Regions from separate parts of the Homo sapiens genome. Here regions 1, 3, 4 and 5 are each linked to region 2. Evidence: promoter capture Hi-C in 16 types of primary human blood cells and fetal thymus (Javierre and others, 2016). All regions are on one chromosome and are shown on one strand. The core of a region is centred on a gene start or on the middle of the fragment in contact, and the rest is flanking DNA. Distances in the headings are between cores, read along the strand shown.

Region 1 (2,700 bases), core at 195-2,694, 350 kb before region 2:
CCTGTAATCCCAGCAGTTTGGGAGGCTGAGGCGGGCGGATCATGAGGTCAGATGATCAAGACCATCCTGGCTAACATGTGAAACCCCCTCTCTACTAAAAATACAATAAAAAAAAAAAATAGCCGGGCGTGGTGGCAGGCGCCTGTAATCCCAGCTACTCGGGAGGCTGAGGCAGCAGAATGGCATGAACCAGGAAGGTGGAGCTTGCAGTGAGCCGAGATAGCGCCACTGCACTTCAGCCTGGGCAACAGAGCGACTGTCTCAAAAAAGACCTGAAAGCAGCTTCTCTTTGAGATTTCTGAGTTATCTGGGATTGCTGTGGGCTCTTGAATTTCCATTCCATTTACTTTTCCAAGATGCCACCCTGAGCACCTCCAGACACTCCATGACTTAGGTCCCTTTGAGACTCAAACCACTTAACCAGTCCCAAGAGTTTAAAGATTCTTAAATTCAGAATTGCTTTTTAGATGCAACCAGAGGTAAGATCCCACTGTACCAAAAAGGGAAAGACATTCTTTGAAGCTAAATTGAACTAGATGGTTTCCTGAAGAATGAAGCCAGGGGTGGTGGCTCATGCCTGTAATCCTAGCACTTGGGGAGGCCGAGGAGGGCTATCACTTGAGGTCAGGAGTTCAAGACCAGCTGGCCAACACGGTGAAACGCCATCTCTTCTAAAAATACAAAAAAATTAGCTGGGGATAGTGGCGGCCACCTGTAATCCCAGCTATTCAGGACGCTGAGGCAGGAGAATCACTTGAACCTGGGAGGTGGAGGTTGCAGTGAGCTGAGATCGTGCCACCGTACTCTAACCTGAGTGACAGTGACACTCTCAAAAAAAAAAAAAAAAAAAAAAAAAAACTGAACCATGGAAGGAACTCACAAACCTCCAGCCTGCCTTGAAAGGGGTAACAAAATACCTAGTCAACAAGAAGACTGTCACCCAAGGGACCTGAAGTGCACATAATCCTGCCAAGGAAAGCACGCACCAATCTGCCCCCAGTTGCCCAGTACTTACTGTATCTAAAACTGAGCCAGGCCTTCAGCCCATAGGTGAAGATACATTCAGTGTTCCCAGTGGCAAGATTCAGCATCAGAAATTAGACAAAGGGCATGTCTTACAGTAAGGGAATTTTGTACAAAAGTCCAAAGGGAGGTGTATGGTGCTTTGTGGTTCAGATAATACAGAAAGTTGAGGAGCTTGATGGGGCAGAGAATGAAAACCAGCTATATGGTGGCAGCCTTGTTAACCCAAACAGATTCATTTACAGGTCCATTTTTTCAGGGTATAGAACCAGCAAGTTACAGGCTTCATCTGCTTGAAGTTAATGTGACTGTAGTTCTTCGTGTATGTATGGCTATTTTTTTCTTCTGCATCCCCTTGACTTGGCATAGTACTTGATCCAGTGGATATCAAAGTTTTGTGAGTTTCTGTTTTGAGTTTGCCAGTCTGTGCCATCTAATTCTCAAATCAGACCAAGGTAGGGAAGACAGCTAGCTTCTTCTTAGTGGTCTTCAATGTGGGTAGGGAGGGATTTTGCCTTTCTCAGAGGCATAGACATTTTTAGTTGTCACAATTGTGGAAGAGGGTGCTACTGGCATCTAGCAGGTAGAGTCCAGGGATGAAGTTAATCCTAAATCAAAATCAAAATAATAAACATCCTACAATGCCAGCATTGGTTTCTACAACAAATGATAATCTGGCCCAAAATCTCAACAGTGCCAAAATTAAGTAATTCTGTGTCTAGCAGACAGTAAGAAAAACACTAAGGGCCAGGTGCAGTGGCTCACGCCTGTAATCCCAGCACTTTGGGAGGCCGAGGCAGGTGGATCACCTGAGGTCAGGGGTTTGAGACCAGCCTAGCCAACATGGTGAAACCCCATCTCTACTAAAAATACAATATTAGCCACTTGAAGCCAGGAGGCGGAGGTTGCAGTGAGCCAAGATTACGCCACTGCACTCCAGACTGGGCGATAGAGCAAGACTGTCTCAAAAAAAAGAAAAAAAAAAAAGAAAAAACATTATGTTCAATCCTGAGCTCTGCTGTTCCAAAAACAAAAGATCAAAGGAGTCTGAAATGATAGGAATCGTTTTGGTTCAGACTTCTCTGGACATAGATCCCTTATCAGACGAAAACATAACTCATGCTAAAAAAAAACCTAGGCAAAAATAAGATTTAAAATGGAAGAATAAAATACTCTATATGGAAATCCTCAGCATGAGAAGGAAAAACAAATATTCACAGGGAAGATTATGGAATGTTCTCACCAAATGTAAAACAGGCCCAGTCAATGCCATTTATTATACATGTCAAACAGCTTCTAAGACCGACGGGCTCCCATAATAAGGTTTTGGGGATTTTTTGTTTTGTTTTTCATTTTCTTTTTTGCATCAAACAGGTTCTTCCAAAAGCCTGCTCACAAGGTAGACAAAAACATAAATCTTCAGGAAAATGAAACATGAGAAGCTGAAACAATCTACACCTGAATGTTAAAAAACTCATCAGACACAAACCACACCAAACACTCATCCCATTTAATTTCCTGTTACATGCTCTGAGGAAGCCAAGAACATCAGGCCCCAGGGCAGCAATGCTCTAGGATTCCAGCTCGGACCCCCTCTATATGACAGATTCATGCACACACATCCACACACCATAGAACCAGGCAGAAATACACATGCATGCACAGGTGGCTAGAGAA
Region 2 (2,700 bases), core at 121-2,620:
CTTCACAGAACTCTCTTACGATTCTAGCCCCCTGAATCTTCTCCCCACAACATTACCACCAGTTTCCTCTTGCTCATGAGTCCTGGGTTGGAGCCTGAACTAAGCCTGGGCTACTTCTAGCCCTGGAAGGTGCAGGGGAGATCTGAGACCCTGCCACACCAGGGTCTTGGTCCTGGGCCCAGGGAGGGGCTCTCACCCCAGCAGGGCCTGGTGCCTGTGGTCTGGTTGTAATGCTGGGGTCTCTGCAGCAGCAAGGCCTGCAACTGCCCTCTCAGCTCTGGGCTCAGCGACTCCACCCTGGTCACCTGCTCTGGAGAATGGATTGGGGGTCATCTCCTTCCTGAGAGTTCCCTGCCGCACACTCTTCCCCTTCTCCCTCTGCCCAGACACCTTTCCCTTCTGGGAGTCTCAGAATGCCAGGGCCAATGAACTTGCTCCTCCACCCTGCTTTTCCATGTCCACCCTGTGACAAGGGTAGACAATCCTAGGAGGGGTAGGGATGGGCTCTGGAAGATTTCAAGACTTTGGAGGGGAAATCCTGGGGAAAAGGCATGGCTACCCAGGCCCTTCCTGCAAAGGATCCCAGCCTACCCACGAGCTCCAGGAGGCTCTGAGCTGGGCAGTCCAGCAGTACAAGGCCCTCGGCCAGCAGGCTGCGGAGCTTCTGGAGGCTGGGCAGTGCCAGGGTGGGCACGTGGGGGGCACTCCACCGGCCTGCAGCCACCTCCAACTTCTCCTCAAACAGTACCCACCTGTGATGAAGGTGGGTAGACAGTGTTATTGAGGGCATTTCTCCCATGTCCAGGAGCAGAGATGCAGAGGAGCTAGGGAAGGCAAGGCAATGAGGGCATCCTGGGCCCAGTGGTGTGAAGTCTCCCCCCCACCCTGGCAGTCACCCCTCATCTAGGGTCTTGGGGATCTCAAAACTAGACTGCAGAGGAGGCTGGGCATCATGGAAGGTAAGACCCTGAAATAAGGGAACACAGCTGGGAAAATCCTAATTTTGGGCAGCCCCATAAGAAGCGCTGGGGGACATATAGGAGGCTCCAGCTGGGGAAGGGGAAGGATCCCACAGAACTGGCCTGCATCCAACTTACCTGCCTGTCTCTCTCCACTCCAGCGCCTGGGGCCAGCCCAGCAGCTCATTCAGCTGAATGAAGAGCAGAGGGTCTTTGGGTACTCCCAGTTCCTTGCTCTCTGTGTCTGAGGGGCCATCAGGGCTGGGGCCGGTGCCAGGGTCAGGGTTGCTGTCCAGCTCCCCTGAAGGAATATTTCTAGGAGCACTGGAGGCTTCAAACCCTTCCTGGCCTGGCAGCTTCATTTCCATGAGGCTTGCACAGAATCTCAGAACCAGTACAGTCCTAGGTTCTGAAGCCAGGGGCCCTCTGGCTGGTTGCATTTATAATGCATCCCCCACTGCAGCACAACACAAACAGAACAAGGCCTGCTGACTCCAGACTCTACCGGTCACCTACTCCCCTACTTGCTTACCCCACCCCCTGCTGGCATAAGAGTATTTGTAAGACTAGTCTGGCCTTTCCCAGGCTCTCCAGAAATGCCCAACCTGGGGCCAAAATGTGTATGTGCATTTCCTGTGGTATCAGGTCTGATCCCACTGTGTTTTGTGTAAAGAAACAGGAGTAAATGATTGGCTTGGGTCTGAGGACTTGGTACCCCCAGATTTTGCTGCCCCCCTCACTTGTATCAAATATAAATACCAAACACCCAGGACTGTTTTGGGTGTCACCAACACACCCCTGGGGCCACAGACACACCTATTTGGACAAACAGGGACCTAATAAATAATTGAGTCCATGGAAGCCAGACAGGGTAAGGGAGATAGCAGGCAGAGGACCTGCCCATTAAATGGGATAATGGTGGAAGACCTAGTGTCTGAGTCTTAAATTCTTTTCTTTTCTTTTTTTTTGAGACAGGGTCTCACTCTCTCACCCAGTCTGGAGTGTAGTGGCACAGTTATAGCTCACTGCACCTTTGACCTCCTAGCTCAAGTGATCCTCCCACCTCAGCCTCCAAGGTAGTTGGGACTACAGGTGCACGCCACCATGCCCAGCTAAGTCTTTTATTTTATTTTATTTTATTTTTGAGACGGAGTCTCGCTCTGTCGCCCAGGCTGGAGTGCAGTGGTGTGATCTCAGCTCACTGCAACCTTCACCTCTTGGGTTCAAGTGATTCTCCTGCCTCAGCCTCCCAAGTAGCTGAGATTACAGACATGTGCCACCAGGCCTGGCTGATTTTTATATTTTTAGTAGAGACAGGGTTTCACCATGTTGGCCAGGCTGGTCTCAAAAACTCCTGACCTCAGGTGATCCATCCGCCTCAGCCTCCCAAAGTGCTAGGATTACAAGCGTAAGCCACTGTGCCTGGCTGCCCAGCTAACGAGTCTTAAATTCTTTTGTCCAACAACACTTAGGAATTCCCTAATTTAGCTGTGTCCCTGGGATCTGCCCTGTGAGGATGGAGGAGCCCACTAGGGGGTGTAAGTGAAGGAGTTCCTGGAGCTAAATGAGCAAAGGAAAATGTGGTCCATTATTTGCAAATCCTGTTGACTCTATCTTCAAAATATACCCATAATCCAACCACATCTCCCCACCTCCAGCACTGCTACCCTGATTCAAACAACCATCATTTCTCACCTGAATTATTTCAGTAGCTTCCTGGTCTCTTGTAATAACCCCCCTG
Region 3 (2,700 bases), core at 100-2,599, 380 kb before region 2:
TTGCCATCCCCTTTTGTATTGGTGCTGTCCTGTGGGAGAGCTGGAAATTCTGCTTATTTCCTTTTGTGTCTATGTAAGTAATAAACTGTCTGAATCAAACAAGGACTGCTGTTTCTTTACTAATCAAAGCTGCTAGGATTTGCCTGAGAATGGGTTCTTATTTTTCCTTGAAGTTCTGTTTCAAAATAGTTTCTTTTTCAAACCTTGTCAACTTGTCTTGGCAACCAGGGATTTGGTTCATATCTGGGAGAGATGACAGTAGTGAGAAGCTGCTCAGAGGAACTGTGGGGATCTGGAAATTTGGTGAAGAGCAGATTTACTCATGGAGTAGGTCTCAAAAGACTCTTACCAAGGCTAACCTCCAGAGTTTCTGTCCCAACCTTAAACCTCTTCAGCTCCTGACCCAGCCTAGTCTTCTCAGGAATCCATGCCGTTTTAGACCCCTCCTTGAAAAAGGGCTCTCTCCCATCTCCAAGAAAATGATAAGCTTGGTGGGGACATACATAGAGGACTAAAGAGGGTCCATGGACATCAAACCTGCCCCCAAAACACAGACAGGAAGAAGCATGCAAATATATCACTGAGATAATGCAGAAAGTAGATTGAATTTGGAGTTCCTTGACAGATAAGTGTCATGAGTTGGTATACCCTGGGCAGTAGGGTCAGCCTAGGCCTGAATGGTTCAAGAACGATGCTGAGTTTTAAGTTTCCTTCTACCCACCACAACTTCCAGACCAGGACACACAAACTTGGGAAGCCCCCATTTGAGGATGCACACCACTGAGAGAAACCCATGTCTTCCTTTCCCTAAAAACTGTTCCCCCAGCTGTGTCTAGGCTCACTCTCCCTCCTCCCACTCAGTGGCTACCTGCCACAAGTCTTGGACCAGCCTCAGTGCTTCCCAGATGACCAAACCGGGGTCATTTTAGCTCAAATCAACTTTCACAGCCAGTACATGAGTCAGACCCATGAAATCCTCCCAAACTGCCAAATGCCAGCCTTGGGTCTTTAAAGCTACCAGAGCTTCATTGTTACCTGGTTACTAGGTAATAACCCACAACAATTACTCCTCTCTGGATCTGGGCCTAAACATTCTGGTATCTTATAGCTCTTTTGTATTAATACTTTCTCTGATTACCTGAAATGATATACCACATAGAAAACTGTACTAAGAGTTATTGAAGAATGTGCAAAAAATTAACAAGAGGTCCAAGGAAAACTAAGCACATGAAGAAAAGTCAAGCATTAACTTCAGGAAAAGTAGAAAGAAGAAAAGGAGACAATCATGGTATATGACCATGTTCTGCTGGGAATTATATTTTGCAAAGGCATAAAAATGTTAACATGAATATTCATCTAACAAAGAATTGTTAGGGCCAGGCACAGTGGCTCACACCTATAATCCCAACACTTTGGGAGGCCGAGGTAGGAGGATGGCTTGAGCCCAGGAGTTCGAGATCATCCCATGCAACACAGTGAGACCTCATCGCGACTAAAAATAAAAAATTAGCTGGGCGTGTGGTATGTGCCTGTGGTCCCAGATTCTTGAGAGGTTGAGGCAGGAGGATCGCTTGAGCCCAGGAGGTGGAAGCTGCAGTGAGCCATGATCGCACCACTGCATTCCAGCCTGGGTGAGAGAGCAAGAGCCTGTCTCAATAAAAGAAAAAGAAAGAAAAGAAAAATTAAGTCATTTCAATCATATACAAACTATCCTAATTAATAAGAAGGAACACTTCCTAAATGATTTTCTAATGCTAAAATAACCTGATAGTGAATCCTATTGTAAAAAATACACACAAAAAAGGAAAAGCCCAGTCTAATGTCATTAATGTAAATAAATGAAAAAAAACCCATACTAATTATTAGAAAATTAAATCCAGTAGTACATAAAAAAGAATAATACAGCATAAGTAGAATTTCTCCAAGATATGAGGTTGACTTAACATTATAAAAGTAATTAGTATATATGCAAAGTTAATGAACTAAAGGGAAAATCATGATTATCTATGTACATGCAGAAAAATTACTTAATAAAATTCAACAACCTTTCATGATTTTAAAATAATCTTAATTAATCTTAAGATTTTTAGCAGATATTAGTTGTATCCTTAGGCATATAAGAGAATATTTGTAACTTGGTAAGGGTGTCCAGGGGAAAAAAAAAAAGCTAAAGCAAACATCATACTTAATGGTGAAATGATTAAAGCTTTCCCTTTGAAATCCAGAACAAGACAGGGATGTCTGCTATCATCACTTTAATCATCCTGTCGTCATTGTTCCAAAGGGCCTAACCAGTGTATACAACAAGAGAAAAATATAAAGGTCTGAGGTGTTCATATGGCATTCTCCATGGTTAGAAAAAGAAGGGGAAAAGTATAAGGAGGTTATTCCGTAGGATTTTGGGGAACAGGTGGTATTTGGTTACGTGAGTAAGTTCTTTAGTGGTGATTTGTGAGATATTGGTGTACCCGTCACCAGAGCAGTATACATTGAACTCAATTTGTAGTCTTTTATCCCTCACCCACTTCCCACCCTACACCCCTGAGTCCCCAAAGTGCACTGTATCATTCTTATGCCTTTGCAGCCTCATAGCTTAGCTCCCACTTATGAGTGAGAAGATACACCTTCTTATATGAAACTTTTTTATTTAGAGTTAAAACTCTGTATGTTTAGAGTTAATACGAGTATAAAACTCTCCTT
Region 4 (2,700 bases), core at 166-2,665, 330 kb before region 2:
CCCAGGCTGGAGTGCAGTGGCACGATCTCAGCTCCTGCAACCTCCGCCTCCCGGGTTCAAGCGATTCTCCTGTCTCTGCCTCCCGAGTAGCTGGGATTACAGGCACATGCCACCACGCCCGGCTAATTTTTGTATTTTTAGTAGATACGGGGTTTCGCCATACAGGTCAGGCTGGTCTCAAACTCCTGACCTCAGGTGATCCACCCCCCTTGGCCTCCCAAAGTGATGGGATTACAGGCATGAGCCACTGTGCCCGGACAAAAAAATAATAATTTTTAATAAGGTAGCACTGGTTATCAGGTTTAGAGAGAGGAAAACTGTAACTTGAAGACAAGGGAACCAGCTCAAGGACACAGAACAAGCCTGTGGAATGATAAGATATGGATTTCTTGAATGAGCTAAAAAACTCAGACTGATAAGATGCTGTGATTGAATATCAATAAAAGATCTGTGCCCTATTGTTCACGATAGCACAAAGCATCTGCTAAGAGAGCATTAGAATCTTTCCGAAGTAAGGCAAAACTTAATCAGTGACATTACCAGCACGCTGTATGCCCTTCCAAAAATAGAGGATGTGGTGGTTCCATACTATGGCGATTATCTGCCCTAAGAGAAGTCCAAGTTCAAGTACACAATCCCTTATCTGCAATTCCAAAATCCAAAACTCTCTGACATCTGAAAATGTTTTTCTGAGATTCATTTTGAGGTAAATTCTAAGATGAACTCAGTCTACTTCTGATCTTTAGTCATCTCATTTACTAGGAATATTCATATATTTCGCTTAAAAATGTTACTGTTTGAGTCCAAGAGTTTCAGGAAAAAGTGTGGATATGAATTAAAATACTCCCTTACTACATATCCGTGTATAAGTCATTCATTTAATCTTGCAGCCTCCGTTTCCTCAACTGCAGAATGGAAATCAAAACTCCAACCTCTCAAGATTGCTCCAAGGATTAAATGACCAGGCATCCAAATCGCTTAGTTCAGTGTCAGTACATAGTGGGCACTCGATAAAAACCGATTGTAACACTACTGGAATACAGGCCGCGAGGCTATGCGTTCAGATCTGGAGACCCTGCTGGGACAGACCAGAGATAATTCTGTCTCGCTCACCTGGCTTTGGCAACGGACCGCCCCGGTGCACGAAGCGCAGGGCGGTCGCAGGAGCTGGCTGAGCAGCGAAGCCCAGGCCCTCCTGGGAAGAAGTCCGAGCAGGGGCATCGCGCGGCAGGACGCCGGCTTTCCGGGACAGGAACAAAAGGCCTGGGAAGGAGGCGGGTCAGACACCAGGAAGGGTGGAGGGCACTGCAAAGGCGGAACCCGCGCACCAGGGAAAACTCGGGCGTTTGCGCACCTCACTAGTCACGAAGGCTGAGGTGGGATCCTCCCAAGTTCCCTTAGTAGCCAGCTTCGGCACTTCCGGGAGGAGCCGGAAATAATTTTTGTGCTCGGCGGAGGCTCTCTAGGCGTGCGACCCAGCGACTCGATAGCCGGAAGTCATCCTTGCTGAGGCTGGGGCAACCACCGCAGGTCGAGACAGCAGGCGGCTCAAGTGGACAGCCGGGATGGCAGAGCGTGCGGCGCTGGAGGAGCTGGTGAAACTTCAGGGAGAGCGCGTGCGAGGCCTCAAGCAGCAGAAGGCCAGCGCCGAGCTGGTGAGATTTAGGCAGCAGGGGAGAGGGCCAAGGCAAAGCCTGGGAGGACGTAAAGCCAGGGTGTTCGGGACATAGGGTAGAGATGTGAGGGAAGCGACCAGTCTTGTAGGGAGGAGAGTGGGCTGCGTGGGGAGACATCCGGGGTGGGTCCCGAGAGAAACAAAGCTAGGCCTGAGCAGAGAGATGTGATGAGGGAGGAATATTGAATGAATGGCGGGGGAGGGAGGAGAGTGACAGATGGATAGCTCAGCGCCTTCTTTCCCTCCACAGATCGAGGAGGAGGTGGCGAAACTCCTGAAACTGAAGGCACAGCTGGGTCCTGATGAAAGCAAACAGAAATTTGTGCTCAAAACCCCCAAGGTAATATCATTCCTGTAGGGAGCCACTGAGAAAGTCTCTAACTCTACTCACGGGGCGCTTATGTCTGCCTCCCTAAACCAGGTCATTGAGGAGGATCTGAAATGCTGCAGAGGAGAGGACAGTCGCTCTGGGCGCTGGGCTGGACTGGACTCTACCTGAGTCATTCTGGGATGGCAAAGTGATGGCAGAAACTAGGCCAGCTGGGTGATCAGGGGAGTCAGCCTGCTGCTGCTACTCCTTCGTTCATTCAATAAATGTGTATTTAGCGCTATGTCTCTAGCACTATACAAAGCACTGAATATATACCATGGTGGACAATATAGCCTACCCTCATGGAGCTTACATTCTACTGAAGGAGAGAGACTTAGAACAAATAATCCCACACAGATTTTTTTGTTTTTTTTTTAAACAGAGTATCCTCTGTTGCACAGGCTGGAGTGCAGTGGCACATCTTGGCTCACTGCAGCCGCTGCCTCCTGGGTTCAAGCGATTCTCCTGCTTCAGCCTCCTGAGTAGCTGGGACTACAGGTGCCCACCACCATGCCCAGCTAATTTTTGTATTTTTAGTAGAGACGGGGTTTCACCATATTGGCCAGGATGGTCTTGAACTTCTGACCTCAAGTGATCTGCCCGCCTCAGTCTCCCAAAGTGCTGGGATTACAGACGTGTGCCACCGCACCCGGCC
Region 5 (2,551 bases), core at 52-2,551, 320 kb before region 2:
TTCACAGATTTCTACCCCATTATATGTAAGTTTTATGGATCTTTAATCCATAATCTTTCTGCACTCAATCCTCTGCTCTGGGTCTCTACTTCCTTCAGGGCTGTCACAAACCTGGGCTGGTGTATCCAAGACTTAGATCTTCCTCATGATACGGAATACTTAACATTTTACTGCCTTGTGCCAGGCACTGTGCTTGGTGCTTTTCATGCATTATCAAAATATAATTGTTACTACAGCCCTGTGAGAGTAGCTAATTTTATTAATTGCATTTTCCAGATGAGAACACTGAAGCATTATAGATCAAATAATTTGCTTAAGGCCATGAAACTTGTAAGTGGTAGGGTCAGAATTTGAATCCAGGCAGTCTGACTCCAAAGTCTTGCCACTAACCACACTGCAATACTGTCTCTAAATGGGAAGCATGTGTCTGAGGCCCTGGGATCCCTCAGATGGCTACCGTGACTCTCTAGCACCTAGAGTAACACCAAGGAAGCCTCTTGTAGCCTCAAGCCCTCCTTTGTTGCTGCTGGTCTTAAGTGGCTGGTTGCATTTCATCTTCTGGGAAATGCTCTGGCAACCTCCCCACAGTCCTATGCCTTTTCTCTAGGGTGGAAACCACCCATTTCCCAGTTGAGATCATTTTTCCAGTAGGCATCTTACATTCTAAGAACTATGAAAATAGTTTTCCTGAAAAAGACAAGGGAAGCAGCAGCAGCATTCTCCTTTCCCCACACCCATATACACGCCTGTGCCCTGTAACTGAAGTGTGAGAGGCACAGTGTCATAAATGGGTAGATAGTAAGTGGGGACTAAAACTGTCAAGGGTGATCTAATTGGGGTGGGCTCATAGTAGTACTTCTGTGTGAATGCTTTGGTGGACCCTTAAGGTACTACATGGACCAGCCTGGGCAACATGATGAGACCCTGTCTCTACAGATTAAAAAAAAAAATTTTTTTTTTTTTTTAAATTAGCTGAGTATGGTGGTGTGTGCCTGTAGTCAGGAGGCTGAGGTGGGAGGATCACTTGAGCTTGGGAGGTCGAAGCTGCAGTGATCACACCACGGCACTTCAGCCTGGATGACAGAGACCCTGTCTCAAAAAAAAAAAAAAGGTACTACATGGAGATAAGCTTGAAGTTACTGTAAAAAAGCTACCTTTACTCTTGCCCTAAGTTATTTATTCTGATACGTCCTATGTACAAGTCAGTCAGTTCAGTCCTCATATCTACTAAAAGCTACCTTTATGCCCAAGGTGCTAGATGAGAAGACAGGGCCCCTGCCCTGGTAGAGCTGAGTTGGGCCTGGTCTCAAAATCCCGACTAGAGCCTGCTTTGTTTGCTCCTTGAAGGTGTTAGCCCAGCTCTCTTTTATCTGCCCCTTCCCCAGGCTTTGGAGGAGAAGATACGGACCACGGAGACACAGGTGCTTGTGGCATCTGCACAGAAGAAGCTGCTAGAGGAAAGACTAAAGCTTGTCTCAGAACTGTGGGATGCTGGGATCAAGGTATGGGAGGCAAGCCCCAGGGTGGCAGCAAACTTAGGTGTGCTGGACACAAACTGAATAAAAGCTCACCCATAATGGATCCTGCCATTACTTCTCAAAAGTAGAGCTAAGAACAGGGTGCCAGCTTGGACACCCTCTGTCCCTGAGGACAGCAGAAGCCAGCCTTCATCTTCTGCTCTTGTCCCCTGCAGGCTGAGCTGCTGTACAAGAAGAACCCAAAGCTACTGAACCAGTTACAGTACTGTGAGGAGGCAGGCATCCCACTGGTGGCTATCATCGGCGAGCAGGAACTCAAGGATGGGGTCATCAAGCTCCGTTCAGTGACGAGCAGGGAAGAGGTGAGGGAGGTGGGCAGGAAGGCTAAGGGACAGAGAATGTATGCCATTTTGGCAGGCCCATGCCCATTCAAGACCTGAGAAAAAGCCTGGCATTGATATTAGTACAACTCATAAAAGCCTTGAGGGCTTAACCTGTTACTGTGGTCTTAGTAGGGTGAGATCTCCATCCCTGCATATACCTTATGGTTTGTTGGCTCCCCCAAGAGGCACACTCTAGCCTGAGGTGTTTAATTAGGTTCCTGCTCCCAGCTGAGACAAGCCTGATGCCTAGAGGGCTAGAGGAAACTAGGCACTCGGGGAGCAGTGGAATGGAAGATGCTTATACCACCTTCTTCTCCCATCCTGGCCAGGTGGATGTCCGAAGAGAAGACCTTGTGGAGGAAATCAAAAGGAGAACAGGCCAGCCCCTCTGCATCTGCTGAACTGAACAAACTATCAGAGGAAAGGAAGTGGGACTGGCACTATTTGAGGTTAAGACAAACTGCATATGTACTTCAATTGCTTTGCACTTTTCCGTTTCAGCGGAAGACCTGAAGAGTGGTCAGAACAGAGCCTTTGATTTTTATTATGGTTATTTTATTGATTATTACTGGCAAAAACGGCCAGGTACAACACCTTTTTCATACAAGGCCCAGGAGGCTTAGTCCAGTCTGTGCTCCTGGGCTACAAGGACCCAGCCTGAGATGGTCCCATCTGCAGGGCCCCGCACCA

Evidence for each region. The method cuts DNA at HindIII sites, captures the fragments that hold promoters and counts their contacts. A CHiCAGO score of 5 or more calls a contact.
Region 1: a fragment that was not itself captured here is called in contact with the fragment with the promoter of SLC4A9 in region 2 in 11 of 17 cell types (non-activated CD4 T cells, fetal thymus, naive CD4 T cells and 8 more); the score reaches 9.3 in non-activated CD4 T cells.
Region 3: a fragment that was not itself captured here is called in contact with the fragment with the promoter of SLC4A9 in region 2 in 3 of 17 cell types (total CD8 T cells, naive CD8 T cells and total CD4 T cells); the score reaches 6.4 in total CD8 T cells.
Region 4: a contact is called between the fragment with the promoter of HARS2 here and the fragment with the promoter of SLC4A9 in region 2, in 1 of 17 cell types (naive CD4 T cells). The highest score is 5.2, in naive CD4 T cells.
Region 5: a contact is called between a fragment that was not itself captured here and the fragment with the promoter of SLC4A9 in region 2, in 1 of 17 cell types (erythroblasts). The highest score is 5.6, in erythroblasts.

The regions. Positions count from the first base shown.
Region 1 is chr5:140,706,236-140,708,935 of GRCh38, reverse strand. It overlaps ZMAT2 (zinc finger matrin-type 2), which reads right to left. Exons shown (of 6, transcript NM_144723.3): 6 at 2,250-2,700. Among named protein-coding and RNA genes, the nearest start is that of ZMAT2, 7.1 kb to the right of the region's middle. The HindIII fragment of the contact is 9,003 bases long and covers 1-2,700 here.
Region 2 is chr5:140,358,864-140,361,563 of GRCh38, reverse strand. It overlaps SLC4A9 (solute carrier family 4 member 9), which reads right to left and starts at 1,370. Exons shown (of 22, transcript NM_031467.3): 1 at 1,098-1,370; 2 at 592-752; 3 at 197-310. The coding sequence starts at 1,327. The HindIII fragment of the contact is 10,887 bases long and covers 1-2,700 here.
Region 3 is chr5:140,739,358-140,742,057 of GRCh38, reverse strand. The region is part of intron 3 of LOC105378198 (a long non-coding RNA gene); the gene reads right to left. Among named protein-coding and RNA genes, the nearest start is that of ZMAT2, 40 kb to the right of the region's middle. The HindIII fragment of the contact is 1,719 bases long and covers 490-2,208 here.
Region 4 is chr5:140,690,170-140,692,869 of GRCh38, reverse strand. It overlaps HARS2 (histidyl-tRNA synthetase 2, mitochondrial), which reads right to left and starts at 1,415. Exons shown (of 13, transcript NM_012208.4): 1 at 1,114-1,415. The coding sequence starts at 1,221. It overlaps HARS1 (histidyl-tRNA synthetase 1), which reads left to right and starts at 1,500. Exons shown (of 13, transcript NM_002109.6): 1 at 1,500-1,655; 2 at 1,926-2,015. The coding sequence starts at 1,566. RefSeq lists enhancers at 1,164-1,233, 1,314-1,403, 1,564-1,793 and promoters at 1,065-1,381, 1,446-1,472, 1,444-1,565, 1,115-1,565. The HindIII fragment of the contact is 4,332 bases long and covers 1-2,700 here.
Region 5 is chr5:140,673,968-140,676,518 of GRCh38, reverse strand. HARS1 (histidyl-tRNA synthetase 1) reads left to right here. Exons shown (of 13, transcript NM_002109.6): 11 at 1,386-1,502; 12 at 1,694-1,840; 13 at 2,191-2,551. The coding sequence ends at 2,262. Among named protein-coding and RNA genes, the nearest start is that of DND1, 1.7 kb to the right of the region's middle. RefSeq lists an enhancer at 2,478-2,551. The HindIII fragment of the contact is 340 bases long and covers 1,132-1,471 here.